Regions from separate parts of the Homo sapiens genome. Here region 2 is linked to region 1. The links are contacts of gene promoters, found by promoter capture Hi-C in blood cells and fetal thymus (Javierre and others, 2016). All regions are on one chromosome and are shown on one strand. Each heading gives the region's core, a stretch centred on a gene start or on the middle of the fragment in contact. The rest is flanking DNA. Distances are from core to core; before and after follow the strand shown. Region 1 holds the start of ARL13B (ARF like GTPase 13B). Region 2 overlaps PROS1 (protein S).

Region 1 (7,706 bases), core at 770-3,269:
ACAAAAGCTGCTAAGAAAAGGAAAGACTAAGAATGATGAATTAAATTGAACACTCCTTCTTCGAATTACACGTTTTCACTGTTTCTCGTTAAAAGAACGTAAGTTATATACATGCCTTCACAGAAACCAAATACATTTCTTAAAAGCAGACACGGAGGAAAATGAGGGGTCAACTATTATGAATGACCCTCAAGTCTTAGTAGATACTGTGAAATTAGACCAGAATATAATTAAAGCAAATAAATCAGAATCTATGCACCTAAAACAACTCTTTGACTTTTTTCTTTTTTTTTTTTTTTTTTTTTTTTGAGACAGGGTTGCACTGTGTCACTCAGGGAGTGCAGCGATATCGGCTCACTGCAACCTCCGCCTCCCAGGCTCAAGTGATCCTACTGATTCAGCCTCCGAAGTAGCTTGGACTACAGGCGTGCGTCACCGTGCCCGTTTATTTTATTGTAGAAACGGGGTTTCGCCATATTGACCAGGCTGGTCTCGAACTCCAGGGCTCCAAAGATCGGCCAGCTTCGGCCTCCCAAAGTGCTGGGATTACAGGCGTGAGCCACCACACCCAGCCCATCTTTGACTTACAGAGTTGATCTTACTACTTATATTTAAAACATTCAAATTCAGTTAGGAGCTAATAATGGGGAAGAATCTCTAGTTTCATTTAAAGTTACTTTTTTTCCAATCTAGACATGTATTTTCTGTTATAATGTGTAAGTGTAGCTTTTCAGATTCATTCTTTAAAGGATAGTTCATTCTCATGGCAAATATACTTAAAATGTTAACAATTTAAAAAAAAAAACAACTTTGCTTTATCTTACCCTTGGCCCAATTCCAGACTAGAACTATGTGAAGTCAACATTATTTGTGTAACAAACACAAGATCTCTTTATAGGTTAGGCCTCAGTTTCAAAAGCATCAATTTCACTGATTATTTCCTAAGACAGTGCCTGGCACAAGGTATTGTCTTAATAAATATTTTTTGAATGAATGAATATCAAGTAACAGGTACTAATTATTAATACTTCCAGCATTTCAAAATGAAATGTTAAAAAGTGGACCCTTTCAATTAAAAGGTTTTACTAGAGACCGTATAAAAATTGGAAGCTACATTACAGTTAAGAAAACACTATCACTTGTTCTCATTGAATACAATATTTCTAAAGCAGAGTATTATCACTCTCATTTAATATTTAAGAAAGGTGGGGCCAAAATGGTTGAGTCATGTAATTATTAAGTAGTGGAGCCAGATTTCAAGCCCACGTCCTCAAATACAACTGTGTGGAGGTGTGACTTGGAATGGAATGTGCGGATATTATGAAAACTATATTCCATGTCCCCCTCTTTTTAAAAGAATTTCCATTACAAAAGCTTCAGAGGAAAAACACACAATGGATAGTTTTCAATTCCACACACACACACACACACACACACACACACACACTTTTTAACAAATTCAAACCTATTTAAAATATAACAACGGTAAGCATTGTCAATCGCAACAGAAAGTCGACCAGACAACAAGGCTACATCCTCCAATCTCTCCCTCCCGGGACACCCTGGGAATGAAAGCATCCCTTGCGGCCTGGGATAGACTCGTCCAGGCGCGGGGAAAAGGCGGCGCCTCGCCCCTGGGGCGCAGCCATCTCCAACCCCTAGGACGGCCAGGACAGCTGGCTCCAGCCTACCTGACAGGCTCCCGCCACCGCTTGAACCAGCCGCAGCAACTGGCCATCAGACTGAACATCCCGGGTCGCTCCTCCCACCACTTCCCATCCGAGCCCGGAGCGGACACCGGCACCCCGCTCTTCCCCGGGGGCCTCCGGCACTCCGAGACGCCCCTAAAGTGGATAAGTCGGGAGGAAAAGCCGGGAGGGAAGTGAAGGCGGCCGGCCCGAGCACTAAGCCTTGCTAACCGCGTGGGTCCGCGACGACTGCCCTCTTAGCCAAGGAACAACCTGACCAAAGACGCAGATACACCGTAGCCGAGTTAGCGGGACCCGGCTAAAGAAAAGCCCCGCGTCGACGTGCTGACGTTACTTCGAGGCGCGGAAGGCGTTCCCCAGGCAACGCCCGTACTGCGCTCGCCCAATCATCGGTTGAGGTCCTGAGGTAGAGGCCTCTGAGTGGCTGAAGAGTCCTGGCTACCCGCCCCTGCGCGAGACTAGGAAAAGAGAAAGGGGAGTACTCTATAAGAAGGAGGCGGAGCTCGAGGTAGCTCGTTCTCGTAACTAGGCAACCGGAGCGTCCGGAGATAAGCTGGAGGATCCGGGACAAATCTCCAGCAAGGCCTATCTTTATACCTACATAAAATGTGTTGCCAATCCACGGTGCTGTTCCTTTCCTTTCTCCAGTGTCCCCAACTGAGATTCAGAGATCTCAGGTCTTGTGCATGGGTTTTTCTTTTTCTTTCTTTCTTTTTTCTTGTTTTTTGTTTGTTTGTTTTTTGCTCAGGGATGGGGACCCTCTAGAATTCTGGCCGACTTAGGCAGCATGACTACAGGAACAATACACTGGGGCAATTCTTGTAAGTTAAAGACAAGGGGGAAATTCGCTTGCTAAATTTTCTCAGTAGTTCAGATGAGAGTGAAGCCTTAATCTCTAAAACGTTTATTACTGTTACATATGTGAAACGGAATTGTATGATATTTGTTGTAGGGGGGATTGTGATTACAAAAGAAAAATGCATTTCTTGTAGAAAATGTGAAAAATACTAAAAAGAAACAAGATGAAGAAAATGAGATCTCACAGGAGCTCTCAAAGATAACCATTTGGGGCCGGGCGCGGTGGCTCACGCCTGTAATCCCAGCACTTTGTGAGGCCGAGGCGGGCGGATCACGAGGCCAGGTGATCTAGACCATCCTGGCTAACATGGTGAAACCCCGTCTCTAGTAAAAATACAAAAAAAAAAAAACAAAAAAAAACAAAAACGGGTGTGGTGGCACGCGCCTGTAGTCCCAGCTACGCTGGAGACTGAGGCAGGGGAATTGCTTGAACCCGGGAGGCGGAGGTTGCAGTGAGCCGAGATCGCGCCACTGCACTCCAGTCTGGGCAACAGAGCAAGACTCCGTCTCAAAAATAAATAAATAACCATTTTGATGTATGTTTGTTTCAGGATTTTTAGGTACATAAATTGCTGGCTATTTGGTATCTGCAAGATGAAGATTGTTATCTCTTGACTGTTTTGTAATAGTTTATTTTTTAAAGAGGTATGTAATATTTGCATTTCTTTTATATACTTTGGAGAAAAAGAAATGACAAGGACATTCCTGTAGGGAAAAAATTATGCACAATATGTAGGGATCTGTGTGTCCATTCATTTTCTACTTAAATAAATATTTTCAAATCCTGATGAAAGGATAGAAGGCACTGAGAATCCCAGTGTATTCGCGGGGAATATAATGATTTGAGACTAAGATACATATAGGTTTTAAATTAGTCTCTGTCCTTTACTAAATCATGTAACTTTTTTTGGTTTTGTTTTGTTTTGTTTGAGACAGAGTCTCCCTCTATCACCCAGGTTGGAGTACAGTGGCATGATCTCGATTCACTGCAACCTCCGCTTCCTGGGGTCAAGTGATCCTCCTTCCTCAGTCTCCCAAGTAGCTGGGACTAGAGACGTGCACCATCACGCCCAGCTGATTTTTGTATTTTTTGTAGAGACAGGGTTTCATCATGTTGCCCAGGCTGGTCTCAAACTCCTGGCCTCAAATGATCCGCCTGCCTCGGCCTCCCAAAAGTGCTGGGATTATAGACATGAGCCATGGCACCCAGCCTCATGTAATTTTAATTCAAATTTATATACATCTCATACAGCTTGCTATCTCCAAAATACTGTGCCTTATGGGGAACAAAGGGGGTGATACCTTTTCTTCTCATCATAACAGTCACAGCCAACACTCATATAACAAAAAGAATAGCAAGAGAAAAGCATAACAAATTTATTTAATCCAAGTTTTATGTGACATGGGAACCTTGCAAATGGAGATGCAAAGATGCAGGGAAGACTACCCATTTTTATACTTGGGTTCGATGAAGAATGAAAAACCCTGAAGAACTCTCATTGGTCAAAAAGGATATGACCTAATGAGAGCAGACTGTGTGGAGAAACTCAGCAAGGCCTGTCTGTTCAGATTCCTCTTGACCTGATTGTTCAGCATTCCTTCTTCCAGGGTATGGGGTAGGACCCTTTCTAGAATGGGAGTCTTAAGACGTACTATCAAACAATGCAAGTCAAAGAATTTATTTATGGGCAGGTCTTTCATGGAAAGGAAGAAGGTTAGAGTAATATTTTGGGGTTTGTGGCTGGCTTTGGGGAAAGGGGGTTGTGGTTTCTATAACTGCACCTGGAGAAAGAGGAATTATAGTTTCTATGGCTTGCATAGTGGGAGAATGAGGGGCAAGAGACGAGGAACAGAAGGTTAGAGACAGAAACTTTGCTTCTGAGGCCTTTATTCTGGGATATTTTCTTCTAAGCTCCAACAACCCTATCTATAACATGGAAATTAAAATACCTACTTTTCCAGGTTGCTAAGGTGATGAAATGAGAGAAATGAAGCTCAAGTGTAATTTCTGATAAATAATAGATAGCAAATTTTAAAGTTGGTGTCACCTGTCCCATAAACACTTATGGTATGTGTCCTCCTACCTCCAAATATCCATGGTGGGAGACAGGAGAGCAGGGCAGGATAAGACTGCAATGCTCCATTAACTCCAAGCCAATTTAGGACTGTTTCTGCTGACTCTACTTTCATGACTCACTTTCTTAAACTAGTGTCTTGCAAACCCTAAAGTTATATTGTTTGTATTCACTCTTTGATCCATTTACTATGATTGGGCTTCTGTCCCATCTAACTACTGAAAGCATATTTTTTGATATAACTTATATCTTCCTAATTACCAAATCGGTTTTCTTTTCTATTATTTAATATATATATAATATAGTTAACTTTTCTAAAACTGTTTCCTGCCTTGGTCTTTCACAGTTATGCACTGCACTACCCTACCCTGGTTCTCTTCTTCTTTGTTTTTTTAACTTATTATGGACCGCTTCATGAATTTGCATGTCATCCTTGTTCAGGGGCCATGCTAATCTTCTCTGTATCATTCCAATTGTTGTATATGTGCTGATGAAGTGAGCACAACCCCTGGTTCTCTTCTGATCTCCCAGGCCATTCCTCCTCTGGATTTCTATATGTAACTTCTAAGATATGACCTTACCCCTCTGCTTTTCTTTTTTAAAACATGTTGTCTTGATGGAATTTGATTATTATTTCTGTGACTGAAGGATCTCATGATGTGTATGTTTCTTGAGCATTTTTAGAACTATATTCAAGACTGTTTTTTCACAAATATATACTCAACACCAGTTTTGCAGTAAATCCTCATTTATCTTCATCCAGAGGTTCTTAGAAACTATAATTTTAAACAAAATAACATACAATAAAACCAATTTTACCACAGACAAATTGATATAAATCAATTAAGTTCCTGTGGCACATTTCTGGTCACAAAAACATCACCAAACTTCAAAATAAAGATGGAACCACTAGTAATAGTAAACATTGAAATAAATGTGAGCTATACATTAAGAAAGATGAATAACAACAAGTAAGATAATTATTTGTCCACTTATTCCAGTTCAGGATCATAGGTGGCATCTCAGGGTAAAAGGTGAGAACTAGCCCTTGACAGGACACCATTCCATCACAGGGTGCTCTCATACATGCCCACACTCACTTAGACTGGGACAGTTTAAACACACCAATTCACCTAACATCCACATCTTTCAGATGTGGGAGGAAAATGGAGTACCTGGAGAAAACCCATGCAGACGTGGGGAGAACATGCAAACTCCATACACACAGTGGCCTGGGCCAGTAGTTGATTTTATTTTTCTCAGCCATGTCATAATGAAACAATACTATTAAAGCATCTGCTCTACTTCATGCCTTCCCCATTTCTGCTAGTGATAACATTACCGAGCATTCCTGGTGCCAACATGCAGTCCCTTAGCAAAGCTGACTCTTAGTTTTTGAATATCTTAAGTGGTTTGGTAGCCATAAGTGCTGCTCACCATGTCTAGTTCTCTTTCCTTACAGGCACATGAAATAACAGTTATTCCCACCCTCTTCAAGTCAGGCATACCTCGTGCCTTGCTTTGTCTAATGAAATGTAAGTGGTATGTCACTTCTTGGTAAAAGTATTTAAGAGCTGGGGCACAATTCTCAATGTTCTCTCTTCTCTTGCAATGGTAATTGTAGAAGACTATGTTGACTTTGAGGGATTGTAAAATCAAAGCAGCATGAATTGCTGAGTTCACACATGGAAGATAGTTACTTGGAAAGTCATGCAGACTTGTAGTAGACTTCCAATGAGCAAGAAATAAACACTTCTTATCTAAAACACTGTAATTTTCTGGCTTTTTAGTGTGTAATCTGGTTTATTCTGAATGATGAAAAGAGTCATGCTGCTATGATTCTAGTTAACACTGTCATTTCAGGATAATTGTTGATATTTTGGCATAAATATTCCCAGGCACACACTGTTGACTTAAATAGAATGAAACGTTTATGTACCAGTCACTGTTTTAAGCACTAGTAATATAGTTGTGAACAAAACCTTTAAAAATTCCTGCTCTCATGAATCTTACATTTTACTGGTGAAGACAGATGAAGAAGTGGATAAGTAGACACTATGTTGGTAGAAGATGATATGGAGAAGTGTAACACTGGAAAAATGATGGGATTAAGATTATGAATGAGACTAGATTAAGAGTTAAATTTTGGACAGGTTTTAATTGTATATTAAGGTCTGTATCAAAACCAAACTTTGGCTAAATGAGATTACCAAGTGTCAATTCATATTGAGCTAAAGCCAGATATCACTTTCACAAAGTTAACTTCTGAGATTAATTAAAAACCCAGAATTTTATTGAAAGATGTATTGTCAAATTGTATATTAATAGATTCCAGATGGTTTTACAAAGTTTGACGTTACAGTGTAGGACACATAAATTTTCAGTGTTGACAATTATTACTGGCAATGTGATGCAAATTTGTGGTATTAAAAAGATATTCAGGCCAGGAGAAGTGGCTCACACCTGTAATCCCAAAGCTTTGGGAGGCCAAGGCAAGAGGATCACTTGAGGTCAGGAGTTCCAGACCAGTCTGGGCAACACAGCGATACCATCTCTACCAAAAAAAAAAAAAAAAAAAAAAAACAAATTAAAAAATTAGCCTGGCATAGTGGTGTGTGACTGTAGTCCTAGGTACTCAGGAGACTGAGGCAGGAGGATTGCTTGAGCTCAGAAGTTCGAGGCTGCAGTGAGCTATGATTGCACCACTGCACTCCAGTCTGGGCAACCTAGTGAGACCCTGTCTCGGATAAATAAATAAATAAATAAATAAGGCTAGGTGTGGTGGCTCACACCTGTAATCCCAGCACTTTGGGAGACCGAGGCAGGCAGATCACTCACGATCAGGAGTTCAGAACCAGCCTGGCCAACATGGTGAAACCCTGTCTCTACTAAAAATACAAAAAAACTAGCCAGGCATGGTGTCAGGCGCCTGTAATCCCACCTACTCAGGAGGCTGAGACAGGAGAATCACTTGAACCCGGGAGGTGGAGGTTGCAGTGAGCCGAAATTGCGCCACTGTTCTCCAGCCTGGGCGACAGAGTGAGACTCTGTCTCAAAAAAAAAA
Region 2 (6,642 bases), core at 2,601-5,100, 79 kb after region 1:
TCTCCTCCAGTACTTTTTGTTTGCTTGTTTTGCTAAAATGTTAAAAAAAAAAGTAAGTTAAAATGTGAATTTCTTGTTCGACTCTTTATTTTATATATATTTTGGTAAAGCCCTAAATTGGATTCATGTTCAAATCATCCATCTCTTACTGAATAGCAGTGTTTAGTATGATAAAATGTACTATAATATTATTTAAACTGCAGTTAAATGACTCTAAAGTGAACTACATTAACAACAAATTCTTCTAAACAGTTATCCAATTTGTGATCATGTATCTTTCTTATCTGCCTATTTGAAGGTCTGTTTGAGTTTGGATTTTGAGACTACTTAGAATATATACCCAAAGGACTATAAATCATGCTGCTATAAAGACACATGCACACGTATGTTTATTGCGGCATTATTCACAATAGCAGAGACTTGGAACCAACCCAAATGTCCAACAATGATAGACTGGATTAAGAAAATGTGGCACATATACACCATGGAATACTAAGCAGCCATAAAAAATGATGAGTTCATGTCCTTTGTAGGGACATGGATGAAATTGGAAATCATCATTCTCAGTAAACTATCGCAAGAACAAAAAACCAAACACCGCATATTCTCACTCATAGGTGGGAATTGAACAATGAGATCACATGGACACAGGAAGGGGAATATCACACTCTGGGGACTGTTGTAGGGTGGGGGGAGGGGGAAGGGATAGCATTGGGAGATATACCTAATGCTAGATGACGAGTTAGTGGGTGCAGCGTGCCAGCATGGCACATGTATACATATGTAACTAACCTGCACAATGTGCACATGTACCCTAGAACTTAGAGTATAATTAAAAAAAAAAAGACTGTCATTAGGACATGAGTGATAGAAAAACCATCACAATGCTGGATACCATATGCATTTTGTAAACAAATAGTACCCATTCTTACTTCTACGCTTAAATACTTTAATAGTCTCTTTCTAAAGAATTTGTGTTTTTATTGTTTTTTTAAGATAGATAGGGTTTTGCTCTGTCACCTAGGCTGGAGTGCAGTGGAACGATCTCAACTCAATACAGCCTCAACCTCCTGGGAGATCCTCCCACCTCAGCCTCCCAAGTAGCTGGGACTACAGGTGTGCACCACCATGCCTGGCTAATGTTTGTAGCTTTTGTACAGAGACAGATGGAGTTTTGTCATACTGTCCAGGCTGGTCTCAAATTCTTGGGTTGAAGTGATCCATCCACTTCAACCTCACAAGGTCGTGGGATTACAGGCATGAGCCACCACACCTGGCCAAATTTGTGACTTTTTAAAAATTAAAAAGTATTTAATTCTTATCCACTCAGTTAATACACATATATATGTGTAAATGATTACAAAAGTGCTCTTATTAATAGGAATGTTCCTGATGACCACATCTGTTCTTATATTCATTTGCATTATTGTTTAGTCATGATATGTAAGTAATAACGTATAAAACAGATAGAAGAATATATAAAAAACTGTTACAGCCAGGCACTGTGGCTCATGCTTGTAATCCCAGCACTTTGGGAGGCCGAGGTGGGTGGATCAACAACAGGTCAGGAGATCGAGATCATCCTGGCTAACACGCTGAAACCCCGTCTCTACTAAAAATACAGAAAATTAACCAGGGTGGTGGCGGGTGCCTGTAGTCCCAGCTACTCCGGAGGCTGAGGCAGGAGAATAGCGTGAACCCGGGAGGCAGAGCTTGCAGTGAGCTGAGATCACAACAGATCTGTCTCAAAACAAACAAACAAACAAACAAACCAAAACCACAAAAAACACTATTACAATGAGACCTTTGCCAAGATGTAGAAATGGTTGGGATCCAGTTGCCAGTAACTGTCTAAAGATGAAAGAATAAAGCTTAACTTTTCTTTTCTTCTTCTTCTTCTTTTTTTTTTTTGAGACAGAGTCTCGCTATGATGCCCAGGCTGGAATGTAGTGTGAGCTCGGCTCACTGCAACCTCTGTTTCCCGGGTTCAAGTGATTCTCCTGCCTCAGCCTCCCGAGTAGCTGGGACTACAGACGCATGCCACCACGCCTGTCCAATTTTGTATTTTTTGGTAAAGACGGGGTTTTGCCATGTTGACCAGGCTGGTCTTGAACGCCTGAGCTCAAGTGATCTGCCCACCTTGGCCTTCCAAAGTGCTGGGATTACAGACATGGGCCACTGTGCCCAGCTGAAAGAATACAACCTTTCAGTCAGACATTAGATGTCAGTTTGGAGTCATAAAACCAATGTACTGTAACTTAAACTTGTATGATCTAAATAATTCCCTGCAATATGCCTCAAACCAAATACACTTATTGACATATTTTTACTGATTTTATTTTATTTTATTATTTATTTATTTAGTGACAGGGTCTCCCTCTGTTGCCCAGGATGGAGTGGAGTGGTGCAATCATAGTTCAAGGCACCCCAGCTTCTGGGTTCAAGTGATCCTCTTGCCTTATCCTCCTTAGTAACAAGAACACATGCCACCACTCCTGGCTAATTTTTTTCTCTTTTCCTTTTTTGTTTTTAATATGTAGAAGTGGGGTTCCACCATGTTGCTCAGGCTGGTCTCGAACACTTTGACCCCCAAAGTGCTAGGATTACAGCACTGCTGCTGTGCCCGGCCACTCCTGGCTAAATTAAGAAAAAAAACTTTGTAGAGACAGTGTCCCACTGTTGCTCAGGCTTACTTTATTTCAAAAACATAGAGTTTTTAGCTCTTTTTAAAAATCGGATATTTTACTTTGAATTAATTAAAGATTCACATGAAGTTGTAAGAAGTAATACAGAGAGATGCTATATACCCTTTACCCCATTTTCCCTTAGTGGTAAGAGTTTACAAAATGATAGTACAATTTCACACTCAAGACATTGACAATGATACAGTCAAAATATAGAAAAATTCCTACAAGGGAACTGGTTTTATTATTTTTGTGCAAGTTATTTTAAATAATATCCTAAATTTTGACTATTAATCTGGAAAAAAAGCTGTCAACTTTTAGAATAGAAAACATATTTTCTGTTCTGAATTTGTCTTTCTCCAGAGAGTACACAGAATAGTTCACTAATAATTCCGTCTCCATTGAACTATTTCTGTCACATGTTTTGTTTTCTTCACAGGTGCTCATCTAGTAACTAATTGCTAACAATATGTTATCTCCTTCTTCATTTGGCAATATAATATATGCATCTGAAATTTCTGGAATATTCATTTAGCACTAAATTCATATTGGATTAACTGCAGATTTATAAGTACTTAGAGACCTTAATCTTATTTTAAATTTGAATCACTATTGTCTACTTTAGACAACAATAGTAGTGTACTAATTAGATGTTTGTTCATTTCCAAAGAAACAAGATAGAAGAGATGAGCCTTCCCATGTACAAAAAATACTTGTGATAATATGGAGTGAATCTGTTTTCAAGACCTCCATTTATTTTCGCACCACAACCTGGCAGATAAGAAAATTTCTAAAGCTTTCTCCTTCTTAACATAACTAGAAAGGAACATGGCAAACATCAATCAAATTTCCCTCTGCATTTGTAGAAAGAAATCATATTTAGTGAGCTAACATATGATGATAGATTTAATGTTTTTTGGTCCAAAGGCCAATCTGTTATCTCATTACATATATTAAACAAGATCCAGGAAACACAAATCAAGGGTTCTTTGGTAGTGTCTGCTGGTATGGGAAAAATGTTTTTTAATATAGTGATTTTATTTATAGATGTGGATGAATGCTCTTTGAAGCCAAGCATTTGTGGCACAGCTGTGTGCAAGAACATCCCAGGAGATTTTGAATGTGAATGCCCCGAAGGCTACAGATATAATCTCAAATCAAAGTCTTGTGAAGGTAGGATGATGGTGGTATCATTACTGATGGTGGAGAGGGTGGGTGTGAACCCTGAACTGATATTTAAAAGCATTGGCTTTGTTTGACATCAACAGTCATATTTTCTTATCCCTAATATAGCTTGTTCAATTGGGTAATCATTGGCTTCCTTCCTTCCAGAGCAAGAGTATGTAAGGCATATGGTCTTTAAGTTTGGTGTTAGGCACGCCAGTTGGCCCTTTGAGCTACCTATGAATTGGAGACCTCCATGTGTGGTAAAAACAAGATAAACATATTTTCACATCATTTATATCATATTCAAAGATAAAGAGAATTTCACTTTGGAAGGAAAAACAGTAGATAGAAAAGAAAGACACAAGCTTAAAAATCATCTTATTGAGACAATGAGCATGGTTAAAACTTTAGTTTTTATTCCAAGCTTTTCAGTGATTTTTCTGTGCATATATAAATAAATCATTTATTCTAAAATAAAAAATGACACAGTTCTATTATCTCATGATAAAGAAATGATAACAATACTCTAGAAATTTAAGAAATACTGATCGGTAATGTCAGAGCCTGTGGGTTTGGGGCAACCCCTTAAAGGTGCTGTTACTTCATGTGACTGCAGTGGCGCTGCCCTGTGTGCATCAGGAAGCTTCAACATATTATAGTTGTTTGTTTGTAGGTTTGTTTATTATGATATACAGATTATCTCATACCTTCCTTTCGATTTTTTAAAATTTTAAAACAGATTTACTGCCATGGCTGGAACTAATCAACACTAATTTTTCTATTGTATCTGTATATATATATGTATGTATGTATATTCACACACATGTATAATGTACCTTTTAAAAAATAGATTTAGGGGCTACAAGTACAGTTTTAATGTACTCTTTTAACCATTTTTAAATGTACAGTTCAGTGGCATTAATTACATTCATGCCATTATGCAGCCATCACTGCTATTTCCAAAACTTTTTCATCAGCCCCAACAGAAACTCTTAAGCAGTAACCATTAAGCAGTGAGTTTTCTTTTATTAGTTACCTTGATGGCGGTAACCTCTAATCTTGTTTTCTGTCTCTATGAAGTTGCCTAAATCAATAATAATTTTACAATATATTTTTTAACTACGTATGCTGCTTTTGAGATTTTGATGTCCTATCATCTCCTTTTGCAATCACCAAAAATATTCCCCTGCCAGCCCCCGCAACACATTTCTCCTTTCTCACCATTGCAGATAGAAATTACCGTGGAAAACTCTAGATGTCTGCGGAATTATCATTAGCCAACTTCATCACTTGTATTGTAGTTTTATTTAATGAATGACATATTTTTTAAAAAGATTTATATATGACTCTTATCTATAACTTTAATAATATGCAATTTTAATACTAAGGATTATTAATTTTGGGAATCTATTTTAAATTATTTTATGAGAACATATTCAATAATAGCATTTATGAGCTTGTGGAGTTTTAAAGGTCATAGGGCATATCCAATGAAAATGTCAATGATCTTATATAACTCTGAGATAGATGTTTGCTTCAACATAATATTATAAATTTCCAAGAATGATTTTCTCAAAATATGGAGTAGGGACAGGGACCATATAGAAGATTTCATAATATGGGAGATTACATCACAGTGAGGTTTTTTAAAAAAAAAAAAACAGATATTTCCCTAAATTCACTGCCAACATTAATTATCGCATTATGAGTGTTCCAATGTTCTTGATATTGTCATTTAATTCCTGATTGTATCAACCTTCAGTTAAAGGGGTCTTTTCTTCCCTTCCCTTCCCTAACTTTCCTTTCCTTTACTTCCCCATCATGCTCTCCCTTCCTCTTTCCCTTCTCATTTCTTTTTTCTTTTTTTCAAAGCAATGAATTGTGAGGTAATCTCAATGAAATTCAAATGATCAGAAATGACAGTTAAGTTGAGATTCTCAATCTTTTTTTTCTTCAAATTCAAAATGAGAAATTTGGTAGAATTGTTATACTTTACTTAATCACTGAAAGTTATAAATTAATTTTTGTTTCAAATATGTAAATAAAAACTATACTTGTAACTCGTTTAAATTTCCATGTTCAGTATTATGTTTAAATGTAGTTTGATGTCATAGTATTTCTTTCCCTAAGGTTCGATTATCATTGATTATATCATACTACAATCATAATATTCCTCTGCCTATAAGATTGAACATTTAGGGGATATTAAAGTTTGTGTGCGTGTGTTTTTTTTACCTCAGATATAGATGAATGCTCTGAGAACATGTGTGCTCAGCTTTGTGTCAATTACCCTGGAGGTTACACTTGCTATTGTGATGGGAAGAAAGGATTCAAACTTGCCCAAGATCAGAAGAGTTGTGAGGTAAACATTTTACAATGCTTAACTTCTCACCTGTTTTCTAAAATGAGAGATCCTAGATACTTATTTTCACATAGCTAAGTCAGGAAAATACAGACGTTCTGCAATAATTGCTGTAGCTTTAAGCAGGTTATGAGTCATGATTATTTACTAATTATGGTCATGTAAGTCATAAACATTGGGGATAATTAGTGGCTGGGTTTAAAAAAAAGAGGGTAGAGTCACAGTTTAGAGAGTACTTATCTGTAGTCTGTACATTTATAAAATACAACTTGTATGTTTACTTAAGAAATCAAGAAAAGCTGAGTTTAATAGCCCTCATTGTGAAAAAAAATCTCTCATAGAAACTTCAGTGAAAACATTTTCCAGTGTCTACTTTTCTGGATTCCACTCTGACTAGTTTGATCATGCCTTAGGCGTTATAGGGTTTAT

The links. Contacts are between HindIII fragments. The CHiCAGO score rates a contact against its expected background, and 5 or more counts as called.
Region 2: a fragment that was not itself captured here is called in contact with the fragment with the promoter of ARL13B in region 1 in 1 of 17 cell types (megakaryocytes); the score reaches 5.3 in megakaryocytes.

What each region holds. Positions count from the first base shown.
Region 1 is chr3:93,974,468-93,982,173 of GRCh38, reverse strand. ARL13B (ARF like GTPase 13B) reads right to left here and starts at 2,019. Exons shown (of 10, transcript NM_001174150.2): 1 at 1,692-2,019. The coding sequence starts at 1,750. It also overlaps the pseudogene RNU6-511P. RefSeq lists enhancers at 1,852-1,981, 2,252-2,411. The HindIII fragment of the contact is 5,745 bases long and covers 1,377-7,121 here.
Region 2 is chr3:93,898,019-93,904,660 of GRCh38, reverse strand. It overlaps PROS1 (protein S), which reads left to right. Exons shown (of 15, transcript NM_000313.4): 7 at 3,732-3,857; 8 at 6,092-6,213. Among named protein-coding and RNA genes, the nearest start is that of PROS1, 73 kb to the left of the region's middle. The HindIII fragment of the contact is 736 bases long and covers 3,483-4,218 here.